2 separate regions of the Homo sapiens genome follow, and region 1 is linked to region 2. The links are contacts of gene promoters, found by promoter capture Hi-C in blood cells and fetal thymus (Javierre and others, 2016). All regions are on one chromosome and are shown on one strand. The core of a region is centred on a gene start or on the middle of the fragment in contact, and the rest is flanking DNA. Distances in the headings are between cores, read along the strand shown. Region 1 overlaps MINDY1 (MINDY lysine 48 deubiquitinase 1). Region 2 holds the start of MRPS21 (mitochondrial ribosomal protein S21).

Evidence for each region. Contacts are between HindIII fragments. The CHiCAGO score rates a contact against its expected background, and 5 or more counts as called.
Region 1: a fragment that was not itself captured here is called in contact with the fragment with the promoter of MRPS21 in region 2 in 1 of 17 cell types (fetal thymus); the score reaches 6.2 in fetal thymus.

Annotation. Positions count from the first base shown.
Region 1 is chr1:150,999,655-151,006,209 of GRCh38, forward strand. It overlaps MINDY1 (MINDY lysine 48 deubiquitinase 1), which reads right to left. Exons shown (of 10, transcript NM_001376665.1): 2 at 2,511-3,052; 3 at 2,071-2,128; 4 at 1,596-1,660; 5 at 803-961; 6 at 208-310. The coding sequence starts at 2,963. Among named protein-coding and RNA genes, the nearest start is that of MINDY1, 4.0 kb to the right of the region's middle. RefSeq lists an enhancer at 6,484-6,555. The HindIII fragment of the contact is 1,608 bases long and covers 3,887-5,494 here.
Region 2 is chr1:150,289,860-150,297,256 of GRCh38, forward strand. MRPS21 (mitochondrial ribosomal protein S21) reads left to right here and starts at 4,002. Exons shown (of 3, transcript NM_031901.6): 1 at 4,002-4,039; 2 at 4,476-4,590. The coding sequence starts at 4,508. LOC105371434 (a long non-coding RNA gene) reads right to left here and starts at 3,961. Exons shown (of 2, transcript XR_922129.4): 1 at 3,773-3,961; 2 at 3,441-3,638. RefSeq lists enhancers at 4,290-4,349, 7,183-7,397. The HindIII fragment of the contact is 15,404 bases long and covers 1-5,952 here.

The DNA of each region.
Region 1 (6,555 bases), core at 3,441-5,940, 710 kb after region 2:
ATTCACTTAACAAATACTTATAATAGAGCAGCTACCTTGTGCCAGGCACTGGGGATACCTCAATGAACTAAACAGAAATTCCCCAAGCTCCTTCTTGTGAAGCTTATATCTAGTGGGATGTGGTAGGAGATGACACCCAATAAAAAATAAGCCTAAGTAGCTGTCATTCCCTCCACATACTATCCATGAGAAGGGGAGGAATGTCACCTTCTGTCACGAGGTTGGTGTCACTGGAGTGTTTGCAGGTGATGATCCTCTCCACCAGCTGGTTGTAACTCAGTTTCCCAACTGCACGCACAGCCTCAGGACTCTGCTTGGGTAGTGGGATGTGGGATACCAAAAAAATTGGGATTTTTTTTTCTTTTTTAAGGAAGGAAATGAACAAAGCTCACAAGGACTACAACCCTGTGATGAATGGTTCCTAAACACTTTTTTTTTTTGGTCTCTCAAAAAAGAAAAAAATTTCAGGAACCATTCATCATAGGGTTGCTATGTTGCCCAGACTGGCCTCGAACTCCTCCCAAGTAGCTGGGAATACAGGCATGTGCCACCAAACCCATCTGCTTCCTGAATTTTTGATGTCTAAAGAACTGACCTATTTGCATGTAGTTTGCTTGTATTTGCATGTTACCCCCAAAATAGATTAAAATTCAAGGAATTCTGTACTGGGTCCAGTCTCTAAACACTATTTCCCTCCCAAGCCAATCTAACCCCTAACTCCCTAACCTCTACCCGACAAAAATTTGCCTCTCTCATGTCAGCTTGAGCTGGATAAGGTCCCAGTGGGCCCTCCCACCCTCACCTGTGGATCAACAAGCCAGCCATGGTACAGAGGTATGCCTAGCAGGTCAAAGACACTGCACTCGGGTGTATACTCAAAATCAGAGACGCCTGTGAATCGCACATTGACATCCAGACCTGTGGCCAGTTTAGGCAGCACTGTCATTGCATCATCCACATTCTGGGGGTAGAAAAAAAAATGATGGAGATTCTAGCCTTCTCTCCCACCACTCCACTCCCACCTGCAGAAATTAAAAATTAACCTTGCTGCTCTTCTTCCCTGATTCTCTTACAAGCCACTCCATTTCTCCCTTGCCTCAACCCTTCTCTATCTTATATAAATGAACATTGTTTTTCTTTGAGAGTCTAAGTCTAATTCTTTCATCCAGGCTGGAGTGCAGTGGTGTGATCCTAGCTCACTGCAGCCTCAAACTCTTGGTTTCAAGTGACCCTCCCACCTCAGCCTCCTGAGTAGCTGGGACTACAGGCACGCACCGCCATACCTGGCTAATTCTTGAAAAAAAAAATGGTTTTTTTTAGAGACAGGGGTATTATTATGTTGCCCAGGCTGGCCTCGAACTCCTGGCCTCAAGTGATCCTCCCGCTTTGGCATCTCAAAGTGCTGGGATTACAGGTGTGAGCACCCGGCCAATGAACATATTTTCTAGGACAAAGATAAACTCTCCTCTGACTCCTGCAGAATGAAATCATGGTTCAAGGAAACCTCTGAAGAAGCAACAAAAGCTTATCTTAGTATTACAAGATGTCCCCTTACAAACCTGCAAACCCCTATGCCTGCAGACCTTTTGCCTCACCTGCTGAAAATTAAGCTGAAGTCCCTCTGACTTCTCCTGGGGCTTGATGGACAGGAGGCAGTTTCCTACAAGACAGGGCCCCTTATCAGCTTACCCCACCAATCATCCCAAAAGCTAAGTTTCCTCTTCTCCTGGAGAATGCGGGTAATGTCACAGAACACAGATTTTCAGAGCTGGAAAATACTTAGAGTCTAATCCAGACTCTTCATTTCTCAGAGGAGGCGACAGCCTCATAAAGGTGAACGGCCCACCCAGGGTCAGATACAAAAGCTAAGGGCAGAATTGGTGTTACAACCCAGGACTCCCGACGCCTTTGCTTTTCATTCTCCAGCCTTGCAGAGAAGCCCCATAGACCCTTACCCTCCCTGCTGTATCAGAACCCCCAAATGGAGATCCCTGAATAGTCTGGATTTCTGGCTGAGTGGATAGCTCTGGAGCCCCTTGGGTAATTCCTCTTCAACGCCCAGTCACTCACCAAGATGGGCCATGAGCTCATCCGATGTGATCACTTCCTTCTGCGGGGGGAGCTTCACCTGGAGGCAGAAGGGGTGATCACGTGTGTGCTTTCCTCCAAAGAGCACTGAAGGAAGAACCCATGGAAAGGCAAGGGGGAGCTCCAGTAGTAGGGTGGGGTAGGAAAAAAGGCTTGCAACTGGCACAAGGGAATGAATGTGAAATCTTGCAAGGCATGTGCATTTGCTAGGGAGTAGGAGATACAGGGGTAGGACAGATCTTCCTCTTTTTTTTTTTTCTTTGTTTTTAGGAACATCTTATCTCATTTGCTCAAGCTGGAGAAATAGGGAGAACAATCTGAAAAGTTTTGACTAGTTTGAGGACATCAGGATGATCAAGGAAGTAAGTCAGGGAAGAGTACTCCCTGATATTTTTTGCACCCCTAACTGCATGTTCTCTTACCTTCCACTGAAGAAAGAGGATGTTCATGATGGCAAGGAGAGGGCAAGGGCCGTTAGTGCTCTGGGTGATGATGGGTGTCTGTTCTCCTTTCCAAGGGATCCACTTGACACAGTAGAAATCTGGCTCAGGCTGTCGGGTCCTGGGGGACTGAGGAAGCTCCTGGGGCATGGAGCATGCCCTTATTGTCTCTACTTCAGGCAGTGTCCCAAGGGTTGGCCCCGGTGGAGCTGAGCTAGCTTCAGGCAGAGGGGACTCAAGGTTGTCCCCACACTGGCTAGGCAGCAAAGCTTGGTCTGCTGGCTCCCGTTCTCTAGCCTCCCCATCAGCATCTCTTGCATCTGTGTCCTGAGGGTGCTCATCTGGGCCTGCCAGAACCTCATGGTTTTCAGGGATGACTGCTTCTGCAGTCCCGGCCTTACCAGGGGCTGGATCCTCAGGCTGATGGTATTCCATGGTCAAAAGGGACTTGGCTGAGGGGCACTGAAGGTGTTTACTAACCTCAGGGACTTGCCTAAGCCAGGCTTGGGATGCAAAAGAGTGACCTGTCCAATAAGAAGGAAATCAGTGGGCTGGAAAGCAAACTAACCCAGAAAAGTCTTGGAAAAGGAATGTAGTGTAGAAGGCTGGCTAGTGTTTGTGCAGTAACTCCTGGCTATGGGCAGTATATGTGTAAACAGAAGGGCCCCGTGCTGAGCTCTTTCCACCTCTAACTTGCTGTGACCAGATGAGACCAAGAGGTCGTGGGGCTTCCAGACTTGGGAGGGAAGACTGGTGGGATTGAACACATGGGTGGAGTCAGCTTCCCTGAAACAGATCATGACAGGGAAGGGAGGAAAGACAGAGAGAAAGGGAGAGCACAAAGGAGAAAGAAGGATAAGAGGTGGAGAAAGAAATGTTAAATCTACGCTAATGGTTATTAATATGATGATCTTTAGCTTACTCTAATAGGCATCACATCAGTAACCCCCTCATAGCCATGACAGAGATAATTCCTCTGCCCTACCCCACACCCTGCCCCTTCACACAACATACTAAGAATACACAGTGCTTGTATGTTTAGGGATACCTTCTCTCTGCCTCACCCAAGGATAAAAAGATTAAGTCACATAGTACTTGGGGTGAAGAATGGAGGAGGCACAGAGAGTCAGTTTCATGCCCCTAAAGGTGAAATGCTGGTGAGGAAGGGGAAGTCTTCCACCTCAAAGGGCTCTACTGAACCTTACACAATCCCAAACCACAGTATAAAGGCCTTGGGAGGGGTTTCCTGTAAGCTGGGAGGGGAAATGTAGGTGGTGGGGGCTGGAATCAGAGACTGGTTTTGATAAATAACTTCAGATTAGGGGCACAAAAAGCACTCCCCACAAGTTCTTCCAGTAAGCTTCTCTTTAAAAAAAATTAATAAAGATATCAAATTTCTTTTAATTAAACTGAGACAGGGTCTTGCTTTGTTGCCTAGGCTGGTCTTAACTCCTGGGGGCCCAAGCAATCCGCCCTCCTCAGCCTGCCAAAGGACTGGGATTACAGGCATGAGCCACGGTGCCTGGACCCAGTAAGCATCTCTTGACAGCTAGCATTGAGACAGCAACTTTTCCTCAGTTCATTTTTTTTCCCCAGAAACTACCTAAACCCAGAGGTACTCTCTTGCCTGCTATTTCTATGAAATATGAAAATGCTGATTATTAATTTACATAACAATACTTCCTGTACATTCACCTACCTAAAGTTTTATGTCTATTCCCATCCAAGTGGTTTTATTTATTTATTTTTATTTTTTTGAGACAGAGTTTTGCTCTTGTTGCCTAGGTTGGAGTGCAATGGTGCGACCTCGGCTCACTGCAACCTCTGCCTCCTGGGTTCAAGTGATTCTCCTGCCTCAGCCTCCCGAGTAGCTGGGATTACAGGCATGCAACACCATGCCCAGCTAATTTTGTATTTTTTAGTAGAGATGGAGTTTCTCCATGTTGGTCAGGCTGGTCTTGAACTTCCGACCTCAGGTGATCCTCCCACCTTGGCCTCCCAAAGTGCTGGGATTACAGGCATGAGCCACCGTGCCCAGTCCTCTCCAGGTCATTTTAGATGTGAACACCGGACCTGTTTAACCTGTTCTCTATCAGCACTGGAGGCACATTGAGGCAAGCACAGATAGACATTTAACTAATACTGTGGGTATAAATAATAAAAAACCACAAATCCTGCCCTTTGGAAAACATCTCCCTTCAATCTCCTTGCTCCCCTCCCACTCTTTATCAGGGAGAGAAACAGGGAGAAATTAAACTAGTTAGGGGCCAGGCGCGGTGGCTCACGCCTGTAATCCCAGCACTTTGAGAGGCTGAGGCGGGCAGATTACTTGAGGTCAGGAGATCGAGACCATCCTGGCTAACATGGCAAAACGCTGTCTGTATTGAAAGTACAAAAATTAGCCAGGTGTGTTGGCACGTGCCTGTAGTCACAGCTGCTCGGGAGGCTGAGGTGGGAGAATTGCTTGAACCTGGGAGGCAGGGGGTTGCAGTGAGCTGAGATGGTGACACTGCACTACAGCCTGGGTGACAGAGCGAAACTCCATCTCAAAAATAAAATAAAATAAAATAAAATAAAATAAAATAAAATAAAATAAAATAAAATAAATTAAACTAGTTAGAAATCTTGTCTTTTCTCCACCCTCCTCCCAGCCTGAGACTGCTTCCTTCTTGTAAACCTACAGGAATTTGGGGCTAGGGGAAGGCCTGGGAGATGAGGTTGAGGAACATTAAAGTTACTGAAACAAAATAAGCCTAGTCACTCAAATTGATTATCCTCTTGATTCACATATGTTTATGCTAGCTGCATATCATTTACGTGTTGTTAATTTAGAATCAGAGTAGCAAAAATTGCCTGCAGGCCTTATGCTTTTTTTTCTCTCTCTTTCTCTCTCTCCTTTCCTTCTCCCCTTAAATGACACTTAGGGTGAACCTCAAAGCAGATGCCAGAGCCTGGAAAAGTGAAAAAGCTTGAAGAAAAGCAGGCCTTGGCCGGGCACAGTGCCTCACACCTGTATCCCAGCACTTTGAGAGGCCGAGGCGGGCGGATCACCTGAGGTCAGGAGCTCAAGATCGGCCTGGCTAACATGGCGAAACCCCATCTCTACTAAAAATACAAAAATTAGCCGGGCACGGTGGCGGGCACCTGTAATCCCAGCTACTCAGGAGGCTGAGGCAGGAGAATTGCTTGAACCCCGGAGGTGGAGGTTGCAGTAAGCCAAGATTGTGCCTCTGCACTCCAGCCTGGGTGACAAGAGTGAGACTCTTGCCTCCAAAAAAAAAAAGAAAAAAAGAAAAAAAAAAAAGAAAAGCAGGCCTTATTTTTTATATTTTCTCTCCAGTGCCAGAAATGATCAATGATGAAGTGGGGGTTGGGCAGCTAGCTGGCTGGAGAGGTGAGCCAAAGGAACCCAGGAGTGGACACCTGAGGGAGTGGGGTCTCAGAGGAACTGGGCAGAGCTAAATGGGCTAAGTCTTAAGAGGCAGGGGCAGGAAATGTAATGGAGGCTTTCTACTCTACAACGTCCAATCCTGCTGGGGAGGGCATGGAGTATTTCAGAGTAGGAAAGAATGAGGGAGAGGATAGTCAGATAAATCAAAGTTTCATTCTTTTCCTCCTCTTTCTTAGCTCGTCAAATCCTACACTTTCTCTCCAGCTGGAATTATGGTGGTGAGTGAGGGAGTTAAAATAATCCTGGCTCCTCCCTAATCAATGGCAGTAGAGAGCCGAAAGTTGGAAGAAGCACGTAAAACAGGTATGTAGCTTCAAGAAGACACTCCTTCTCTGTAGGAACAGTTCCCTTACTGTCTCACACCAATCTCCTTCTTAGTCTGACCTATGTCTTTGTGCAATCAATAGTTTAGATTTTCATCTCAGAATATGTCAACCATGGCCACAGTGCCCTGTATACTTGCTCACAAGGAGAGGGGGAAGGTTTCGTGCTTTCATTAAAAGGAGGAGGACCAAGCAGCATCCCCTTTACATGTCTCTCCTGACTTAGCTCCTCTAAGCAATCCAGACTTGCAGA
Region 2 (7,397 bases), core at 2,752-5,251:
CTGGAGGCTGAGGCAGGAGAATCCCTTGAACCTGGGAGGCGGAGGTTGCGGTGATCCAAGATTAAGCCATTGCACTCTGGCCTGGGCAACAAGAGTGAAACTCCGTCTCAAAAAAAAAAAAAAGAAACGAAACTTAGGAGACTTATCTAGGACAACACAATATGTGGACAGAACTCGGTTTCCAGTCTGATGTGTTTTCCAGTAATCACCAATCAAATTATTCTTTCCTGAAAACATGTCCTGCTACCACTTTTTTTCTTTTTTTTTGAGACAGAGTCTCACATGTCACCCAGGCTGGAGTACAATGGTGCGATCCCGGCTCACTGCAACCTCCGCCTCCTAAGTTCAAATGATTCTGCCTCAGCCTCCTGAGTAGCTGGGATTACAGGCACCCACTACCACATCCAGCTATTTTTTGTATTTTTAGTAGAGATGGGCTTTCACCATGTTGGCCAGGCTGATCTTGAACTCCTGACCTCATGATCCACCCACTTCGGCCTCCCAATCCCACGCCTGCTGGGATTACAGGCGTGAGCCACTGTGCCAGCCAGCTACCACTTTTTACAGTCTCCTCTTCTGTTAGTGCTATCTGTGGTATCACTAAGTACCATAGTTTTTTGTTTTGTTTTGTTTTTTCCTGGATAACTAGGCTTAAAATTTGGTGCCATCTGGTCACCAGATCCTTTTTATTCTTTATTTGGAATATCTCTTAAAATCCATTTCTTCCTATCCATTCCATTGCCACCAGTCTGGTCTAGACTTCACTGTACCAGTAGTCTCTCTTCTAATCCCTTTTCGCTGATAACCAAGTTAATTTTCCTAGAACAGTGCTTTGCATATCATATCCTATTCAAATTCTTCAATGGCTCTCGAATGCTTTGAGAAGAAAGTCCAAAATCTTTAGTCACAGTCTCTATTTTTCCCTGTGCTCCCCTGCATGATCTCTCTGTTGCAGGTTTTTGTTTTGTTTTGTTTTGACTCCTGAACACTACACCTTTTTGCCCCTAAGCTCTTGTTCATGCTGTTCACCTTGCCAAACCTTTCCTGCTTCTGTTATCTAAACCCTGCCCTCTTTCAACGACTAACTCAAGTCCATCCTATCATTCTTTCTGTTAAACATGATCTATACACTCAGTGTTTGGCCGTTTACTCCATTAAATGGAATCATGTACATAAAATACCTAGTGCAGGGTTTGGGGCCTGGTGGGGTGGCTCACACTTGTAATCCTAGCACTTTGGGAGACCAGCCTGGACAACATAGTGAAACTATTAAAAATACAAAAAATTAGTCTCTACTAAAAATACAAAAAATTAGCTAGGCGTAGTGGCATGTCCCTGTAATCCCAGCTACTCGGGAGGCTGAGGTGGAAGGATCACCTGAGCTCAGGAGGTCCAGGCTACAGTGAGCTATGATGGTGCCACTGCATTCTAGCCTGGGCAACAAGAGTGAGACTCTGTTTCAGAAAAACAAAAACAAAAATAAAAAACACCCACCTAGTACAGGGTTTAGTATATAGTAGGCTCTCAAAAATGTTACTCTCCAGCTGATCCAATGGTAGTGGTTAACAGAACTTATTAACATCAGTTCCTGTCTCCCTTCCTTTCTTTCAAAGTATCTTCATATTTTTTTTCTCTTTTTTTTTTTTTTTTTTTTGGAGACAGAGTCTCGCTCTGTCACCCAGGCTGGAGTGCAGTGGCACCATCTCAGCTCACTGCAACCTCCACCTCCAGGGTTCAAGTGATTCTCTTGCCTCAGCCTCCCAAGTAGCTGAGACTACAGGCGAGCGCCGCCACGCCCAGCTGATCTTTTGTATTTTTAGTAGAGACGGGGTTTCACTGTGTTAGCCAGGATGGTCTCGATCTCCTGACCTCGTGATCCACCCGCCTCAGCCTCCCAAAGTGCTGGGATTACAGGCGTGAGCCACCGTGCCCGGCATATCTTCATATTTTATTCTATTTGATTCCCATGACAAATTTCGTGAGACTGAACAGGGCAAAATTAGTCCCATTTTAGAGATGAGGAAATAGAGTGAGTCTGGCAAGGGCCAGATAGTAAATATTTTAGGCTTTGTAGGCTTTATGTCTCTATTGCAACTACCCAATTCGGCCATCGTAGCCCAAAGCAGCCATACATAACACACAGTCAAATAAGCATGACTGTAGGTCAACAGCCTTATTTACAAAAACAGGTGGAGCAGGATTTGACCTGTAAACTGTAGTCTCCAGACCCCTGGTTTTAAATGACTTCTTCAAGGTCATAGGCCTGATGAGTATTAGAATTGGGATAGAATCCAGATCTCCCAACTTTGAAGCCAGTGCCTTTCACCACATTATGCTGTGGCATATTTTATTTATTATTTGTTTGTTTATTTATTTTTTGAAATGGAGTTTCACTCTTGTTGCCCAGGCTGGAGTGCAATGGTGCGATCTCGGCTCACTGCCACCTCCGCCTCCCAGGTTCATGTGATTCTCCTGCCTCAGCCTCCCAAGCAGCTGGGATTACAGGCATGTGGCACCACGCCTGGCTAATTTTGTATTTTTAGTAGAGACAGGGTTTCACCATGTTGGCCAGGCTGGTCTCAAACTCCTGACCTCAGGTGATCTACCCGCCTCAGCCTCCCAAAGTGCTGGGATTACAGGCGTGCGCCACCGCGCCTGGCCCTATTTATTTATTTATTCATTTTTAATTTTTTGAGACAGGGTCTCACTCTATTGCCCAGGCCAGGGTGCAGTGGTGTGATCAAAGCTCGCTGCAGCCTTGACCTTCCAGGCTCAGGTGATCCTCCCCCTCAGCCTCCCAAGTAGCTAGGACAACAGGCCATGCCACTACACCCGGCTAATTTCTATATTTTTTGTAAAGACGGAGTTTTGCTTTGTTGCCCAGGCTGGTCTCGAACTTCTGGGCTCAAGTGATCCGCCTGCCTTGGCCTCCCAAAGTGCTGGGATTACAGGTGTGAGCCACCGCGTCCAGCCCATATAATTTATTTTGCATTTATTATATACTACTTTGTTTTAGTATCTTTTATGTGGTCCTAGTGGTCCAGGAGGCACTAGAGTGGTATCAACAGTATCTGACACAGAGTAGTCATTCAGTGAAAGTTTGTTGACAAGCATAATAATGTCCCAATCTAGTTCTATTTCGTTACTTTGGACCTGGCTTACTCTGAGGTGGGCTTAAGTGTTAGTGTAAGTTATTAGCATCAACTGATGATGCACACGTCTGTGTCTGTGTCTGTGTGTGTGTGTGTGTGCGTGAGCGTGCGCGCGCACTCTCTCTCTAAGGGAGGTACGTTTTCCTACAGCCATTAGATGTTAACTTACGTGAATAACCATAAATGGATATGTACAGGTAGCATACAAATAGGAGGACGGGTGTCTCCACAGCGAAGAAGAAATTTAAAAGGAGGTTTTTCAGTAGGTCTCATTAGCACGAAAAGGCATAGAAGCTGACATAATTTTTTATTCTAAACCCTGCAGGTGTTTCCCATATATCTTTATTGATTTCACTTTATGTAGTTAAATTAGTGGGAAGATGATATAGGAAACTCACAGTATGTTTATTTCTTTTCCTTAGCACTTAGGCAGATGACGTGTATGAATCAATCTATTTTTCGTCCGGAGAGCAGATCTCAAAGAGTCTGTCCTTTCCAAAGAGAAAACAGGAAGCATCCTCAGGAAGCGCCTACTTCTCTTGTTTTCCATCGAGAAAGAGAAATGGCTCAAATATTTATCAAGGATTTCACAGGATTAAGGGGTATGAAATTGGGCTGACCTTCTCAGAGGCCGAAGGACTTCGACTCCATGAGAGGGCGAGAAACGTGTTTCGGGGGAATTTAAGTCAATGAGTATTTTGCTTTGTCAGGTGTAGAGTCCAGGCCCGGGGAAGAGAGGCAGTCAACAGAGGCCAGAAAGGACGTTGCTATGGTTTCCACGCACGTTGTCTCCCTCGGCCTGTTTCTTTGCGCGGCGCTGGCGATTCCGTAATTTCCGCTTCCGGTAGTGAGAACCCTTCCGGTGGGCTAGGTACTGAGCGCGCGAGGTGAGGAGTTGTGCAGGGTTTGGGGAAAGGAAGGCTGGCTTGGCGAGAGGGCAGGTTTGCGGGCTTTCGCCCCCTTTTCCAAAGACCAACAAAGAGTCCTTCCCCAACTCCCAACTCAACCCCTTTTGGAACTATGTGTGGTGGTTGGGACCCTGTGGCGCATCCTTGTCGCTCGTGTCCTTCTCATGCCCGGCGACGCGTCTTTGTGGTAACGCCCTGCTGCCATCTCTTTTCTTCTCTATGCGAGGATTTGGACTGGCAGTGAGAATAAGAGACAACGATTCACGTCTACTTTCTAGGATGACTTCCATGTGCTCCATCTCGCGCGTCCCTGAGCATGTTGAATTTCCAAATCCTAAATAAGCCGCGCGGTGTAGTTTGTATTATGTTGCGTTTCTCTTTCTGCTTTCCTCGCCCTTTCTCCATCATCCTTTAGGCTCTACAGAGTGAAGGTTTAAATCCAAGGTCATGGCAAAACATCTGAAGTTCATCGCCAGGACTGTGATGGTACAGGAAGGGAACGTGGAAAGCGCATACAGGACCCTAAACAGGTAACTGTTAAGGGACCAGAATCATGCCTAGACTCTCTGGGAAGTGCGGTGGTTATTCTCTCCCTTCCCCTTTCGTTGATTGTTCTCAAAACAGTGCCAGCCCAGGTGTTCACAGTCTCTTAAAACGTCTCAGCCCCTCAGTTTATTATCTTAAAAATGAAGTTCTGGGCCGGGCGCGGTGGCTCACGCCTGTAATCCCAGCACTTTGGGAGGCCGAGGCGGGTGGATCACATGCGGTCAGGAGTTTCAGACCAGCCTGGCCAACATGGTGAAACCGTGTCTCTACTAAAAATACAAAAATTAGCCGGGCGTGGTGGCAAACGCCTGTAATCTCAGCTACTCGAGAGCTGAGGCAGGAGAATCGCTTGAACCCGGGAGGCAGAGGTTGTAGTGAGCCAAGATCGAGCCACTTGCACTCCAGCCTGGGCAAGAGTGAGACTCTATCTCAAAAAAAAAGAAAAAAAGTTCTTCCTCAAACCTAACTGTATGAATTGTATTCAACAAGTAATCACCCCCCGCACCTCCCCGCTTTTAATTTTAATTTTAATTTTTTTTTTTTTTTTTGAGGCAGAGTCTCGCTCTGTCACCCAGGCTGGAGTGCAGCGGCACGATCTCGGCTCACTGCAAGCTCCGCTTCCTGGGTTCACGCCATTCTCCTGCCTCAGCCTCCTGAGCAGCCAGTACTACAGGCTCCCGCCACCACGCCCGGTTAATTTTTGTATTTATAGTAGAGATGGGGTTTCACCGTGTTGGCCAGGATGGTCTTGATCTCCTGACCTCAAGTGATCTGCCTGCCTCTGCCTCCCAAAGTGCTAGGATTACAGGCGTAAGCCACAGCGCCCGGCCCCGCTTTTTAAAAATTGAGACAGGGTCTTGCTGTGTCACTCAACAATCCTCCTGCCTCAGTCTCCTGACTAGCTGGGTCTAGTGACGCACGCCACCACCGCAGTTAATTTTTGTATTTTCTGTACAGAGGGAGTCTCGCCATGTTGCCCAAGCGTAATGACTCCTTTTATGAGGAACCTGAATTCTTTAGAAGACTTAAAAAAGAGCCCAAATGGAAAATCAAGATGTGAAGTTGCTAGGAAGCGGGAACGTAGTATGATAAATAGAAAGCTGAGGGAGTGATTGGTGTGGGACAAAGCTAAAGGAAAAGGTGAATTCAGATTGGCATCCTAGAGAAGCAGGCAAAAGATGGGAAAGCTCACTGGGTGGGATGACTCACACCTGTAATCCTAGCACTTTGGGAAGCCTAGTGGGGAGGATTGCTTGTTGCCAAGAGTTCAAGACCAATCTGGTAAACATAGCAAGACCCCATTTCTAAAAATATTAAGAAGAAAGGGAAAAAAAGAAAGATGGGAAAGCTTACAAGTTTTCAGGAAAGATACAGCATAAGGAAAAATACATAAATGGAAACAAACTAGCTGGGGTGGAGGAGCTTTATAGCTTCATTGAAAATTTTTGAATGCCAGGCTAAGAGATGTAGAAGAGCCCTAGTAATACTTTTTTTTTTTTTTTTTTAAAACGGAGTCTTGCTCTGTTGCCAGGCTGGAGCGCAGTGGTGCAGTCTCGGCTCACTGCAGCCTCCGCCTCCTGGGTTCAATTGACTCTTCTGCCTCAGTCTCCTGAGTAGCTGGGACTACAGGTGCCCACCACCACGCCTGGCTGATTTTTGTATTTTTAGTAGAGAGGGTTTCACCACGTTAGCCAAGATGGTCTCAATCTCTTGACCTCGTGATCCACCCGCCTTGGCCTCCCAAAGTGCTGGGATTACAGGCATGAGCCACTGCATCCGGCCCAGCCCTAGTAGTACTTTACCACTGAATTCTCAAGCAAAAAGTTCTTAACCTTCCCTTCTCACCAGTTGTGTGGATTTTGACTTTCTGGTATGACTCACGCGTCATTTTCTTTCCCCAATGTGAAGTAACATTTGGAGAAACAAACGCTTGTTGAGTTGAATTATCAAAGAATTGTAAGGAAGGGGCTCCTGTAGTGCTAGCTGCTCCAGAGGCTGAGGCAAGAGGATTGCTTGAACCCAGGAGTTCAAGACTGTAGTGTGAGTGCACTCTTGTTGTGCCTGTGAATAACCACTCCACTCTAACCTAGGAAGCATAGTGAGACCATGTCTCTTAAAAAAAATGTAGGAAAGATATTGCATGGGCTGCATTAAGGCCTTTAATGTGGTAGCTTTATTTCACAAGTAAGGGAAGCCTTGGAAGATCAGATTATCTTTATTGGGTTATGCAGTTATTGAATGGTGGAGAGGAGCCTAAAGCACATCTTTTTAGTGCAATGTTCTTTAATAATTATTACTAGTCTTACTAGAAATGGAAAGACTTATGGTGGTTCATTTTCCAATTTAGAATCCTTGTCTTGTCATTTCAGCAGGTGTCGCTTTAAAAAAAAAACCAGAATCCTCATCTGATTGGGTTTAAATATTGGTAGGGTTCTTGAGGACTGAGAGGGCAAAGGAAAGGGAACCTAGTTCTTAGCAAAGCAGAGAGTTCTAGGTGTGGAAGGCTGGATGGCAGAAGACCACAGTGAGGAAAAAAATGCTGTCAGCCGGGCGCGGTGGCTCACGCCTGTAATCCCAGCACTTTGGGAGGCCAAGGCGGGCGGATCACGAGGTCAGGACATCGAGACCATCCTGGCTAACACGGTGAAACCCCGTCTCTACTAAAAATACAAAAGATTAGCCGGGCGTGGTGGCACACACCTGTAGTCCCAGCTACTGAGGAGGCTGAGACAGGAGAATCGCTTGAACCCGGGAGGAGGAGGTTGCAGTGAGCCGAGAGCGTGCCACTACA